Regions from separate parts of the Homo sapiens genome. Here all the other regions are linked to region 3. The links are contacts of gene promoters, found by promoter capture Hi-C in human tissues and cell types (Jung and others, 2019). All regions are on one chromosome and are shown on one strand. The core of a region is centred on a gene start or on the middle of the fragment in contact, and the rest is flanking DNA. Distances in the headings are between cores, read along the strand shown.

The links. Contacts are between HindIII fragments. The study calls those that stand out against the background at their distance.
Region 1: a fragment that was not itself captured here is called in contact with the fragment with the promoter of ZNF878 in region 3 in 3 of the 25 tissues and cell types used here (hippocampus, mesenchymal stem cells and stomach).
Region 2: a fragment that was not itself captured here is called in contact with the fragment with the promoter of ZNF878 in region 3 in 1 of the 25 tissues and cell types used here (lymphoblastoid cells).

What each region holds. Positions count from the first base shown.
Region 1 is chr19:12,313,501-12,317,760 of GRCh38, forward strand. It overlaps ZNF563 (zinc finger protein 563), which reads right to left. Exons shown (of 4, transcript NM_145276.3): 4 at 3,977-4,260. Among named protein-coding and RNA genes, the nearest start is that of ZNF563, 18 kb to the right of the region's middle. The HindIII fragment of the contact is 6,161 bases long and covers 1-4,260 here.
Region 2 is chr19:11,686,627-11,690,952 of GRCh38, forward strand. No RefSeq gene overlaps it. Among named protein-coding and RNA genes, the nearest start is that of ZNF823, 50 kb to the right of the region's middle. The HindIII fragment of the contact is 6,716 bases long and covers 1-4,326 here.
Region 3 is chr19:12,049,628-12,054,320 of GRCh38, forward strand. ZNF878 (zinc finger protein 878) reads right to left here and starts at 3,334. Exons shown (of 4, transcript NM_001080404.3): 1 at 3,172-3,334. The coding sequence starts at 3,174. RefSeq lists a silencer at 2,930-2,979 and an enhancer at 3,168-3,673. The HindIII fragment of the contact is 7,236 bases long and covers 1-4,693 here.

The DNA.
Region 1 (4,260 bases), core at 1,403-3,902, 260 kb after region 3:
TGGGAACAAAGCTGTGTGGCAGTAGCTGACCTAAGCCTGGGATCAAATCTAAAGGTTGCCTGAGAGAAACAGGGACTGCGTAGGAACAGGTCTTCCATGAACACAGGAAAATGAACAAACTTAGTGCTGCAGACAAGGAGGAATGTGGCCCAGCGCTGCTTGGTAAGTTCATGGTCCAAGGGAGTCTTTGCACTTCTGTGGCTTTTTTTTTTTTTTTTTTGAGACGGAGTCTCACCCCTGTCGCCCAGGCTGGAGTGCAGTGGCAGGATCTTGGCTCACTGCAAGCTCTGCCTCCTGGGTTCACGCCATTCTCCTGCCTCAGCCTCTCTAGTAGCTGGGACTACATGCACCTGCCACCACGCCCGGCTAATTTTTTGTATTCTTTTAGTAGAGACGGGTTTCACCATGTTAGCCAGGATGGTCTCGATCTCCTGACCTCGTGATCCGCATGCCTCGGCCTCCCGAAGTGCTGGGATTACAGGCGTGAGCCACCGCACCCGGCCCACTTCTGTGGCTTCCCCCCCCCGCCATTTTCTCATGGTGCCAAAATTCACATAAGATAGAATTTACCTTGGCTGGGCACGGTGACTCACACCTGTAATCCCAGCACTTTGGGAGGCCAAGGCGGGAGGATCACGGGGTTCGAGACCAACCTGACCAATATGGAGAAACCCTGTCTCTACTAAAAATACAAAATTAGCTGGGTGTGGTGGCACATGCCTGTAATCCCAGCTACTCAGGAGGCTGAGGAAGAAGAAATCACTTGAACCTGGGAGGCAGAGATTGTGGTGAGCCAAGATAGCGCCATTGCACTCCAGCCTGGGCAACAAGAGCAAAACTCCATCTCAAAAAAAAAAAAAAAGATCTACAGGAAGGAGTTTCAGGCCAGCAAGGTCTGGCTTAGCTAGCTACACAATGCATTAGAGCTTCAAGAACTTGAAGAACATGGGAGAATTGGCCTTGGCTGATGCAAAGGAAACATCAGCATTCCTAGAAAAGCTCATGAAACTCATTAAAAAAAAAAAAAAAAAAGAGGCTAACTTCCAGAGCAAATCCTCCATTGTAATGAATCAGGCATGTTCTGGAAGAGGATGCCCAATTGTACCTTCATCACAAGAGTACAAAGAAAGCCTTGGGGTTCATGACTTGGAAAGATTGCCTTACTCTGGTGCTACGTGGCAATGCAGCAGGTCATAAGATCAAACAAAGCCTCCTCTACTAAGTAAACAATCCGTGGGTCCTTGAAAACAAAAGCGAAACTTGCCTGCCCGTGTCCTGACAAAAACACACGAGGACTTGGTTCTACCACTGCTTCATTCCTGATGTGAATGAATACCTTGAAAAGAAGGGGCTGCCACTCAAGGCCCTCCTCATAACTGACAACGCTCCTGGCATCTCTCTTCTCTCTGTTATGCCGATAAAAATGGGGAAGTGATGTTCCTGCCTCCTAAAACTACATCACTGCTACAACTACTTGATCAAAGCATCATCAAGTGCCTCAAGGTGTCTTACACCCACTGGACTTTTGGAAGGATTTATGCTGTCTTGATAATAACCCTCACCATGTCATACAGGATTTATGGAAGAGCTTCCCAACTGCAGAAACGATTGTGTTTATTGCGGAGGCTGTAAATGCCCTACAGCTCAAGACAGCCAAAGTGTGTTGGAAGCCATTATGGAGTGAGGAAGTCAATGATTTCAGGCGCTTCTGCACTATCGATATGATAGTCAGAAATATCTTAAATGTAAGGAAAGTTGGTGGGGAAGGCTATCTCTGACACAAGTGAAGACAATGTTGAGGAACACACAGAAGAGCAAAGAAGAAACCTTTACTAACAAGGAACTAGAAGATATGCTGAAATCCTCTATAGATGATGATGATGATGATGTAGATTTAGAAGAGGCAGTGCCGCCAGGCGTGGTGGCTCACGCCTGTAATCCCAACAGTTTGGGAGGCCGAAGCGGGTGAATCACCTGAGGTCACGAGTTTAAGACCAGCCTGGCCAACATGGTGAAACCCCGTCTCTACTAAAAATACAAAAATTAGCTGGGTGTGGTGGCGGGCACCTGTAATCCCAGCTACTTGGGAGGCTGAGGCATGAGAATCGCTTGAACCCAGGAGGCAGTGTTTGCAGTGAGCCGAGATCGTGCCACTGCACTCCAGCCTGGGTGACAGAGTGAGACTCAGTCTCAATAAATAAATAAAGAGGCAGTGCCATAAGTGGTGGCTCATGCCTGTAATCCCAGCATTCTGAGAGGCCAAGGCAGGCAGATCACTTGAAGTCACAGGGAGTTCAAAACCAGCTTGGCAAACATGGCGAAACCCTGTCTCTACTAAAAATACAAAAATTAGCTGGGCATGGTGGTGCATGCCTGTATTCCCAGCTACTTGGGTGGCTGAGGCAGGAGGATCACTTGAACTTGGGAGGTGGAGGTTGCAGTGAGCTGAGATTGTAATCCCAGCTCCTCAGGTGGCTGATGCAGGAGGATCACTTGAACCTGGGAGGTGGAGGCTGCAGTGAGCTGAGATTGCACCACTGCACTTCAGCCTCAGCGACAGAGTGAGACTCTGTCTGAAAAAAAAAAAAAGAAGCAGTGCTATAGATTTTGATACTTGAAAAATCTGAAGGCTGGGTGTGGTGGCTCACCCTGTAATCCTAGTAATTTGGGAGGCCAAGGCAGGCAGATCTCTTGATTCCAGGAGTTCAAGACCAGCCTGGGAAACATGGTGAAACCTTGTCTCCACAAAAAACACAAAAAGTAGCCAGGCATCGTGATGTGTGCCTATAATCCCAGCTACTTGGGAGGCTGAGGTGGGAAGATCACTTGAGCCCAGGAAGTTGAGGCTGCAGTGAGCCATGCACTGTAGGGTGACAGAGTGAGATCTTGTCTTAAAAAAAAAAAAAAAGAAAAGAAAAAGAAAAAAAAAGAAAAATTGGAAGCAGTTTTAGGGCACCTACAGCTTCTACAAGGCGCAAGTGTTAAAGATTATCATCCTCAATTAAGATTCTTCCATGGAACAAAGCCTCCATGTCACCCCAGAGATTACATGCTCACAAACGTTGCAAAGTTTAAAAAAAAAAAAACTAGCTTCCTACAATGTTTCTAATTAAATATCTGCAAATATGAAGACAGCCTTCAATGCTTAAAGATCTTCAGTCCTCAAATTGAACAGATTCTGACATTAGTATTATTTAGACTGCTCCAAAAATTCAGTATCTGCAGTCAGAATCTGTTTCTTCCAATATAGTTGATCATGTTGACATCCTGTCAAGATTCGAGTTAGCCTGAGGTCTCACTGCTTATCTGTGGTGTCACACATCTAGCTGACTCAACACATCACAACATTAGGCACGATATTGCAATAATCATCATTACACTTTTGTTGGGTGAATGTTAACACATTTTCAGGTCATTAAACAAAAGCAATCTATGAGTGTTGAAAGAAAAGATTTATAATGCTCTAGGTGACATGTATTATGTGGGTGGGTCTGTACTGAATATGTGTAGGGTCTTTCTCATATCATGATTCACTAAACAATATAATAACAACTATTTACATAGCTTCTATGATGCATGATGTATTTTAACTAATCTACAGATGATTTAGAGTATACAGGAGGATGTGGGTAGGTTACATGCAAATATTTTTTATTGTTATTATTTTTTTGAGACAGGGTCTCATTCTGTTGCCCATGCTAGAATGCAGTGATGTGATTTTGACTCACCGCAACCTCAACCTCCCAGGCTCAAGCGATCCTCCCACCTCAGCTTCCCTAGTAGCTGGGACTACAGGTACATGTCACCACACCTGGCTAATTTGTGTATCTTCTGTAGAGACAGGGTTTTGCCACATTACCCAGGCTGGCCTCTAACTCCTGGGCTCAAGTGATCCACCTGTCTTGGGCTCCTAAGGTGCTAGGATTACAGAGGTGAGCAACTGTGTCTAACCCAAATATGTCTTTTCTTTCTTTCCTTTTTTTTTTTTTTTGTGTGTGTGACAGAGGTTGTTTTGCTCTTGCTGCCCAGGCTGGAGTGCAGTGGCGCGATCTTGGCTCACCGCAACCTCCGCCTCCCGGATTCAAGTGATTATCCTGCCTCAGCCTCCTGAGTAGCTGGGATTACAGGCATGTGCCATCACATCCGGGTAATTTTGTACCAAATATGTCATTTTTAAAAAAGGACTTGGCATGTGTCGATTTATGTATGCCCAGGGGGTGGTAGAACCACGCTCCTGCAAATATTAGGGGATAACTGTAT
Region 2 (4,326 bases), core at 1,339-3,838, 360 kb before region 3:
ATGATGGTGATTGCTCTGTGGTGCCTAAAGTTGCAACATGTTGAGGTGCCAAGATATGTGGCAGTGTCGATAAGCAATGAGATGTCAATTAAACTAGAATCATCTGACAGGACATTAGAAGTATCATCTATGTTGGAGGTACCAACTTCTGACTGCAGATGTTGACTCTTTCATCAATAATACAAATGTTGGATCTACGGAATTTGAGGGTCAAAGATATTTAAGCATTGATGGTCCCACAGATTCTAGTTGGGGACATTATCAAGGATGCAGTTTACCCAGAGCGATTAACCCTAGTGGAGGAGCTAGATTAGGAAAGTTTCTGGGGTCATGGTTAAGTCTAGGTTCTACTTGGAATGGATATCTAACCAGAAATCTTTCTTGTATCATTAGTAGAGTTGCCCATTTCACCACCGAAGCCATCAGGACACAAGAGAAGTCTCTAGGTTCCCTTGCCTGCATGGCCCTAGACAACCACATTGCAGCTATCTCCCTACTTTACAGGGTAGTGTCTGTGCTAACCCTTGCTTCTGCATCTGGGTAAAATACTTCCAGTCAGACTGAATTGGGAACATATAAGATCTTAAAACCAGCCAAATCTCTGAAAGGGACACCTTCAGAAACCCTCCTGTCTAGACTTACTGGGTTACATTTCCAATTTCCAGATATTTTCAGCTGGCTCTTCCCCTGGTATAGGATTTCTTCTCCATTCTGCCCTACAAGTCTCAATGATCCTATTTAAAATATGCATTTGGCTCCTCTTTAAAATTGTTCTATCTTGTTTCAACAGATGCCTCCAAGAGACCCCCACTAGGTTCTTGCTGACCTAATACTTGAGATTTTAAACTCACTCCAGCTGGCCACTGAAACCAACTTAACCCAAGAGATTTTGGCTAAAATTTAACAGGTTCCTGAGAACCTCTTATAAGTAAATGGCTATAGTTGCCCAACTGGCCACTGCCCTGCCATTAGGATCCCTGCATGGGATGGACCCACAGCAGGTCACTGGTACCATGATAGAACACACACAAAAACTTATGAATGCTGTCTGTGGACGGGTTAGAGTCAGTCCTTCACACTGGCTAACTGGGCCTAAGTTTTAAAAAGAGCTAAGCCGCCACTTGTTAACTAGGGGTCACAAGCACTGTGAGTTTCCTGAAAACCAACACCTTTTTAACTTTGGGGGCTCACCTGAGCTAGTCAATCAGAGCTCAGCTGTATCAACCAATCAGAACTGAGTTTCAAGTTTCAGATCTTCATTTGCATAAAAGCACTTGACTAGGAACCCAGATGGGAACTTTTGCTATAAAACCTAAGCTTTCCCTTGTTCTCTGGAACAAATAATGTTTAGGTTGCAAACTCCTTATGCCTTTTCCCCAGAACTATGTAGAAATAACGCCTTCTAAAATGTGATCTTGATACCAGGGAACTCCTTTTTTTTTTTTTTTTTTTTTTTTTTTTTGAGTCGGAGTCTTGCTCTGTTGCCCAGGCTGGAGTGCAGTGGCGTGATCTCAGCTCACTGCAAGCTCCGCCTCCCAAGTGGCTGAGAGACAGGTGCGCACCACCACGCCCAGCTAATTTTTTGTCATTTAGTAGAGATGGGGTTTCACCCTGTTGGCCAAGATGGTCTCAATCGACCTGACCTTGTGATCTACGTGCCTCGGCCTCCCAAAGTGCTGGGATTACAGGCGTGAGCCACCGCACCTGGCTGATACCAGGGAACTCCCAGAGCAAAGCACTAAATACTTTCATTCCTCTAAGGTCTATGACTCTAATCAGCAGAAAGTAGTTAGAGCAGTTATCATTCCTTTTCCTTCAAGACTTAGGAATGAACATAATAGGAGGGATTTGTAACCACAACAGATTATGTGGTACAACTTCTATATAACAAAGCTGAGTTTTCAGTTGCCATGGACCCAACACTCAAGGTCACATAATCTGAGCATGCCCAGATGAACCAAATGTGTAACCATGGGTGGAACCTATATGCTTGGACTGAGGTGTGGAGATTAAAGTAAAAAGTAGATGCTGGGCACGGTGACTCATGCCTGTAATCCCAGCACTTTGGGAGGCTGAGGTGGGTGGATTGCCTGAGCTCAAGAGTTCAAGACCACCCAGAGCAACATGGTAAAACCCTGTCTCTGTGAAAGATACAAAATATTAACCAGGTGTGGTGGCGCACACCTGTAGTCCCAGCTACTTGGGAGGCTGAGGCAGAATTGCTTGAGCTCCAGAGGTGAAGGTTGCAGTGAGCGAGATCATGCCACTGCATTCCAGCTTGGGCTACAGAGTGAGGCTCTGTCTCAAAAAAAAAAAAAAAAAAAAGATACCACATGGTGGAATCTAGGATCTAATCAGGTTGGGCCCCGGTATCATCCCATGGCAGGATCCAATCGAGTCACATTAACCTGGCATGAGATCATTGCAAGATGCAGTGAGTTCATGTCTTATTACCCCACGCTTATAAAACTTGCCAAAGCCCCCAGCTCAGGGAGACATATTTGAGCATTTCTTCCTTTCTCCTTGCCAGTCAAACTTGTAGTAAAGCTTTTCTTTCTTCAAAAGCTGGTGCCATGCTATTGGCTTGTGTGTACATCTGGAAGTGAGCCAATTCACTACTTGCTAACATAACAAAGAATCAGCAACTGTGAAGATGAAACAATTAAAATTATCCAGTCTGGGCCAGGCGCGGTGGCTCACACCTGTAATCCCAGCACTTTGGGAGGTCCAGGTGGGTGGATCACCTGAGGTCGGGAGTTCGAGACCAGCCTGACCAACATGGAGAAACCCTGTCTCTACTAAAAATACAGAATTAGCTGGGTGTGGTGGTGCATGCCTGTAATCCCAGTTACTTGGGAGGCTGAGGTAGAAGAATAGCTTGAACCAAGGAGGTGGAGGTAGCAGTGAACCGAGATTACGCCATTGCACACCAGCCTGGGCAACGAGAGTGAAACTCCATCTCAAAAAAAAAAAAAAAAAAAAAGAAAGAAAAAAATTACCAGTCTGTGGAAAAGAAAGAGGAAAGAAATTGAGAGAATGTGTTACTAGTATACCTGCCTTGCCAGTCATGTTAAAGTTCTTCAGAGCGAAGGAAACTGATACAGGTTAGGAAAGCAGATGTTTCAGAAATAAAACTTGTTAGAAAATAATTAAATGAGGGCACAAATATGATTATCTTTTCTTCTCCTTCATAGATAAATGTTTGTTCAAATGAATATCAACAATGTATTGGGTGGTTATAGCTTCTAACAGGTCAAATGCGTGACAGTGATATTATATGGGATTGGAAAGAGGAATTCAGAACACTCTTAACATATTGGCACTACCCCAGACACCAGTATAGTGTTATTTGAAAATGAAAGTCCATTAGTTGCAAATGTATACTGCAAACTATGGAATTCACTAATAAAATTTAAGAAACAAGTAGACTTACTACACTAATAGAAGCAAGCAAATGGAATCATATAGAACGCTCAATTAAAAGGCAGAAAAATAGAGCAAGTAGAAAAAAAGCACAAGTACAACAAACAATATATATGAACATATTAATCTATGTCAATTACCACTTTGAATGTGTATTTTTTTTTTTTTTTGAGATGGAGTCTCGCTCCATCGCCCAGGCTGGAGTGCAGTGGTGCCATCTCGGCTCACTGCAAGCTCCGCCTCCCGGGTTCACGCCATTCTCCTGCCTCAGCCTCCCGAGTAGCTGGGACTACAGGTGCCCACCAACACGCCTGGCTAATTTTTTATATTTTTAGTAGAGACGGGGTTTCACCATGCTAGCCAGGATGGTCTCAATCTCCTGACCTCGTGATTCATCTCAGGAAGACAAGATGGGTGGATCACTTGAGCCCAGGAGTTCTCAAGACCAGCTGAGCAACATGGAGAGACCCTGTCTCTACAAAAAATAAATACAAAAATTAGCCAGGCATGGTAGCACACGCCTGTAGTCCCAGATGAGGTGGGAGGATTGCTTGAGTTCGGGAGGCACAGGTTGCTGTGATCACACCACTGCACCCCAGCCTGGGTGCCAGAGACCCTGTCTCGAAAAATAAATAAATAAATAAATAAACCAAAAAACCTGATTTATCTGAATTTAATATAGCCGTTCCATACTTTTGAGTAGGGCTAGAATGGCATATATTTCACCATACCTTTCTATTTAAGGTATCTGTGTCTTTCTGTTGAAAATGGTTATCTTTTACACATTGCTGGGCCTTGTTTTTAATTCTACTCTGCCAGTGCCTGTCTTTTTTACTGGTGTATATAGATAATACACATTCAGGCCGGGCGCGGCGGCTCATGCCTGTAATCCCAGCACTTTGG
Region 3 (4,693 bases), core at 2,084-4,583:
GGTGTGGTGGCGCATGCCTGTAATCCCAGCTACTCGGGAGGCTGAGGCAGGAGAATCACTTGAACCTGGGAGGTGGAGGTTGCAGTGAGCTGAACTCACGCCATTGTACTCCAGCTTGGGCAACAAGAGCGAAACTCCATCTCAAAAAAAAAAAGAATAACCAAAAGAATCAAAATTTTGACCACCTTTGTGTGCCATAGTTAGATGACATCAAAGAAACACACCAGAACTGCCCAAGGACTATTCATTTTCCTGGGTGGTGTTCCCAAGTATATTCTTACTGACATGGCATCCAATTTTAAAACATCCAATTTTGGCCGGGTGCGGTGGCTCATGCCTGTAATCCCAGCACTGTGGGAGGCCAAAGCAGGCAGATCACCTGAGATCAGGAGTTTGAGACCAGCCTGGCCAACATGGTGAAACCCTGTCTCTACTAAAAATACAAAAATTAGCCAGGTATGGTGGCATGCACCTGTAGTCCCAGCTACTTGGGAGGCTGAAGCAGGAGAATCGATTGAACCCGGGAGGTGGAGTTTGCAGTGAGCCAAGATTATGCCAGTGCACTCCAGCCTGGGCGACAGAAAGAGACTCCGTCTCAAAAGTAAATAAATAAATAAATAAGAAGCAATTAAACTGAACTGGCTATAGAACACTAAGACCCTTCACAAGCATACTGAAGCCAAATTCAAATCCAATTCACATAAATTTCTAATCTGTGGCCTGAGGAAACAATATCACTAATGACTAATTTATAGGGAAATGAAATTTAGGCTTAACCAGGCACAATAGGTCAATTAATCTCTGATTACATAACCAAAAGTTTCACCTGTACAGAATGTGAAAATAGGTGATTCAAAAATTTAAGCTGCTGGAACTCTAAATTATCTTGAGGTTTAAAGGAATGCCATTCTGGGGTTGAGACACCTCACAGGCAGCGGTAACAGAGCCAGCCAGGGAACCTTCCATTCCCTGATTACAGATTAGCTTTCTTTCTTACCTATATTGTTTTGTAAAATATTTTAAATGACAAGCAAGTCAGGAAAGACCCCTTCCCTCTTAAGGATTGATTTCATTATAGACTAACTTCCCTCTTACTTTTCTTACACAAAGACTTCATGGCCATCACATCTTCTGAAGCTGGAAATGTTAAATTCACTTTTTTAAATAAGAAAAGAAATGAAAACCGGCCGCGCGCGGTGGCTCACGCCTGTAATCCCAGCACTTTGGAAGGCCGAGGTGGGTGGATCACGAGGTCAGGAGATCGAGACCATCCTGGCTAACACGGTGAAACCCCGTCTCTACTAAAAAATACAAAAAAATTAGCCGGGCGCGGTGGCGGGCGCCTGTAGTCCCAGCTACTTGGGAGGCTGAGGCAGGACAATGGCGTGAACCCGGGAGGCGGAGCTTGCAGTGAGCAGAGATCGCGCCACTGCACTCCAGCCTGGGTGACAGAGTGAGACTCCGTCTCAAAAAAAAAAAAAAAAAAAAAAAGAAAAGAAAAGAAATTAAAACCCCTTGCAAAGAAAATTTTAAAGTCCTGGGCCGGGCGCGGTGGCTCACGCCTGTAATCTGATACAGGAGAATCGCTTGAACCGGGGAGGCGGAGGTTGCAGTGAGCCGAGATTGCGCCATTGCACTCCAGTCTCGGCAACAAGAGCGAAACTCCGTCTCAAACAAACAAACAAAAAAACCTGTAACTAAATTGTATAATTAATTTAGTTGTACTAATTAGTTGTATTAAATTAATTGTACAATTAATTTAGTTGTACTAATTGTTGCGATAATTAAATTTCTTTGTTTTTTGCCTATATAAGAAGGAGCTTAACTTTTTTTTTTTGAGACAGTCTCATTCTTTCACCATGGCTGGAGTGCAGTGGGGCATTCCACTGTAATCCCAGCACTTTGGGAGGCCGAGGAGGGTGGATCACGAGGTCAGGAGTTCGAGACCAGCCTGGCCAATATCATGAAACCCCGTCTCTACTAAAAATACAAAAATTGGCCGGGCGCAGTGGCTCACGCCTGTAATCCCAGTACCTTGGGAGGCCGAAGTGGGCGGATCACAAAGTCAGGAGGAGTTCAAGACCAGCCTGGCCAATATGGTGAAACCCGTTTCTACTAAAAATACAAAAATTAGCCGGGCGTGGTGGCTGGCGCCTGTAGTCCCAGCTACTCGGGAGGCTGAGGCAAGAGAATCGCTTGAACCCGGGAGGCGGAGGTTGCAGTGAGCCGAGATGGCGCCACAGCACTTCAGCCTGGGGCGACGGAGCGAGACTCCGTCTCAAAAATATAAAAATCTGGTAAAATAAAAACAGGTCTTTTGGGGAAGGGGGCGGGGACTGGGATGGAATAACGTGGCAGATAACAGCCCTCCTTCCTACAGCCTCCAAATTTTAGACAAAGCTTTACACACTCTCAACCAACTGCCACCTACAGAATCCCTCCACCACCTGTGCCTTCTAACCCCGCTTCCATGTGTCCCGCCTTTCGGCCAAAGGAACTTACACCTTCCCGGCACTGATTCATCATTTTCCTGCAATTCCTGTCTCCCTGAAATGAATAAAACCAAACTGTCAGGAGCTGCCTCGGGATTGCTTACTCCAGACTTCGCGGGGTTGTGTTTCCCTCAGCCGAGGTCTCTCCTATTCGGCTCAGAATAAACTTATTCTACACGATTTGGGTTTTTCCGTTACCAAACCACAAGCCAGGACTGGGAGTTTCTCATTCATTAATCGCTGTTTGCTAAAATAAACTCTCATTTTTTAACAGTGCCTCAGTTTAATTTTTAACTGGAAAAAAAAAGGAACTGGGGACCCCACAGCCCACAGCTCCTCCCACACGAACCCCACACCCGAGGCAGGATCCCCCATGACCCTTCCATGGTCACCGCACAATCTGGGGAGACGCGGGGCTGCGGGCGCGGAGCTGCTCAGAGAGGGAGCCGGGGCCGGGGCCGCAGTCGCCGCGCAGGGACCGGACAGGACGCCCGGGGTCCCGGCTGCCGGCCCAGCTCCACCCAGCGGCCGAGGGGACCGAGGGCCGAGCTGCGCTAGGGGGACTGTGTCTGGAGCCCAGAGTCGCTGCAGGGGGGCCCGGGCCCCGCCACAGCGGGTTCCTCTCGGTTCCACCCAGTCCCTCCTTTCGCCTTGGGACTCCCCAGCACCGCATGCTCACCATTTCCTGGCTTCCAGGTATTCTGGCGTCCTCTCTAAAGGTCCCGTGAACAGTGCAGGTCACAGCGCAGTCGACAGAGCAACAGCAGCTACGGCGGAAGTAACTGGTCCCTCTCGGAGCAAGAAAGCCCCAGACCTTAACTAGCGCGAGCAGCCCTAGGAGTGAAGAGAGCGGGAATGCAACCTCCCCTTCCCTGGAGGACAGTGGCAGGGCCCCGCCCTAGCGCCCCTGATTGGATAGGGGTCTAGACTCCGCCCCCTTCCCTGAGTGACAGCAGAAGCCCCGGGTAACTGGGCGCTGCAGAGCCGAAGCGACTGGTTCTGGCCACACTTTCCAAGGTCAGCTCCCTCCCTCCCTCCCACCTTTACTTCGAATATTTGCCTTCGGCCAAACTTGCTCCGAACTGCTAGAAGGGACACTGTTGTCTTCCTCACTCCGTGGGCCGTCCCTGCCCCTTCATCCTACACGGGACACAAGTGTGCAGGGAATTCCAGATTCAGTGTCCACAAAATGTGAAAGACATTAAAATATTTTGCCCCAAGATATTGCCCTGCCAAAATATATTTCTTTGACAGTTTTGAAATGGCTGCTGCTTGGCCAGCAAACAAAAGGTGGCCTTGCAAAACTGTCTTTTGAGGGGGAAATTTACATTTGTAGAGAATCTCCGTTAATGAAGCACTGCCAGCTCCCCCGTTCTTTTCCTTTCCCTGATCTAAAAGCTATTGAGAGTTTGACACCTTTAAAATCTGAAGAGAGGTAGCACATGGTGACTCATGTCTATAATCCCACCACATTGGCAAACTGAGGCGGAAGGATCCCTTGAAGCAAGGAGTTTGAGGCCAACATCATCAACACAGCGAGATCCCTGTCTTTCTTTCTTTTTTTTTTTTTTTTTTAGACAGTCTCGATCTGTCGCCCAGGCTGGAGCACAGTGGCACGAGATCTTGGCTCACTGCAACCTCCGCCTCCCAGGTTCAAGCGATTCTCCTGCCCCAGCCTCCCAAATAGCTGGGATTACAGACATGCGCCACCACGCCCCGCTAATTTTGTATTTTTAGTAGAGACGGGGTTTCTCCATGTTGGTCAGGCTGGTCTCGAACTCACGACCTCAGGTGATCCGCCCGCCTCGGCCTCCTAAAGTGCTGGGATTACAGGCGTGAGCCACCTCGCCCGCCGATCCCTGTCTTTATTATTTAAAATTTTTTTAAATGGCCGGGCGCTGGCCGGGCGCAGTGGCTCACGCCTGTAATCCCAGCACTTTGGGAGACCGAGGTGGGCGGATCACGAGGTCAGGAGATCGAGACCATCCTGGCTAATACGGTGAAACCCCGTCTCTACTAAAAATACAAAAAAAAAATTAGCCGGGCGTGGTGGTGGGCGCCTGTAGTCCCAGCTACTCGGGAGGCTGAGGCAGGAGAATGGCGAGAACACGGGAGGTGGAGCTTGTAGTGAGCAGAGATCGCACCACTGTACTCCAGCCTGGGCCACAGAGCAAGACTGTGTCTCAAAAAAACAAAACAAA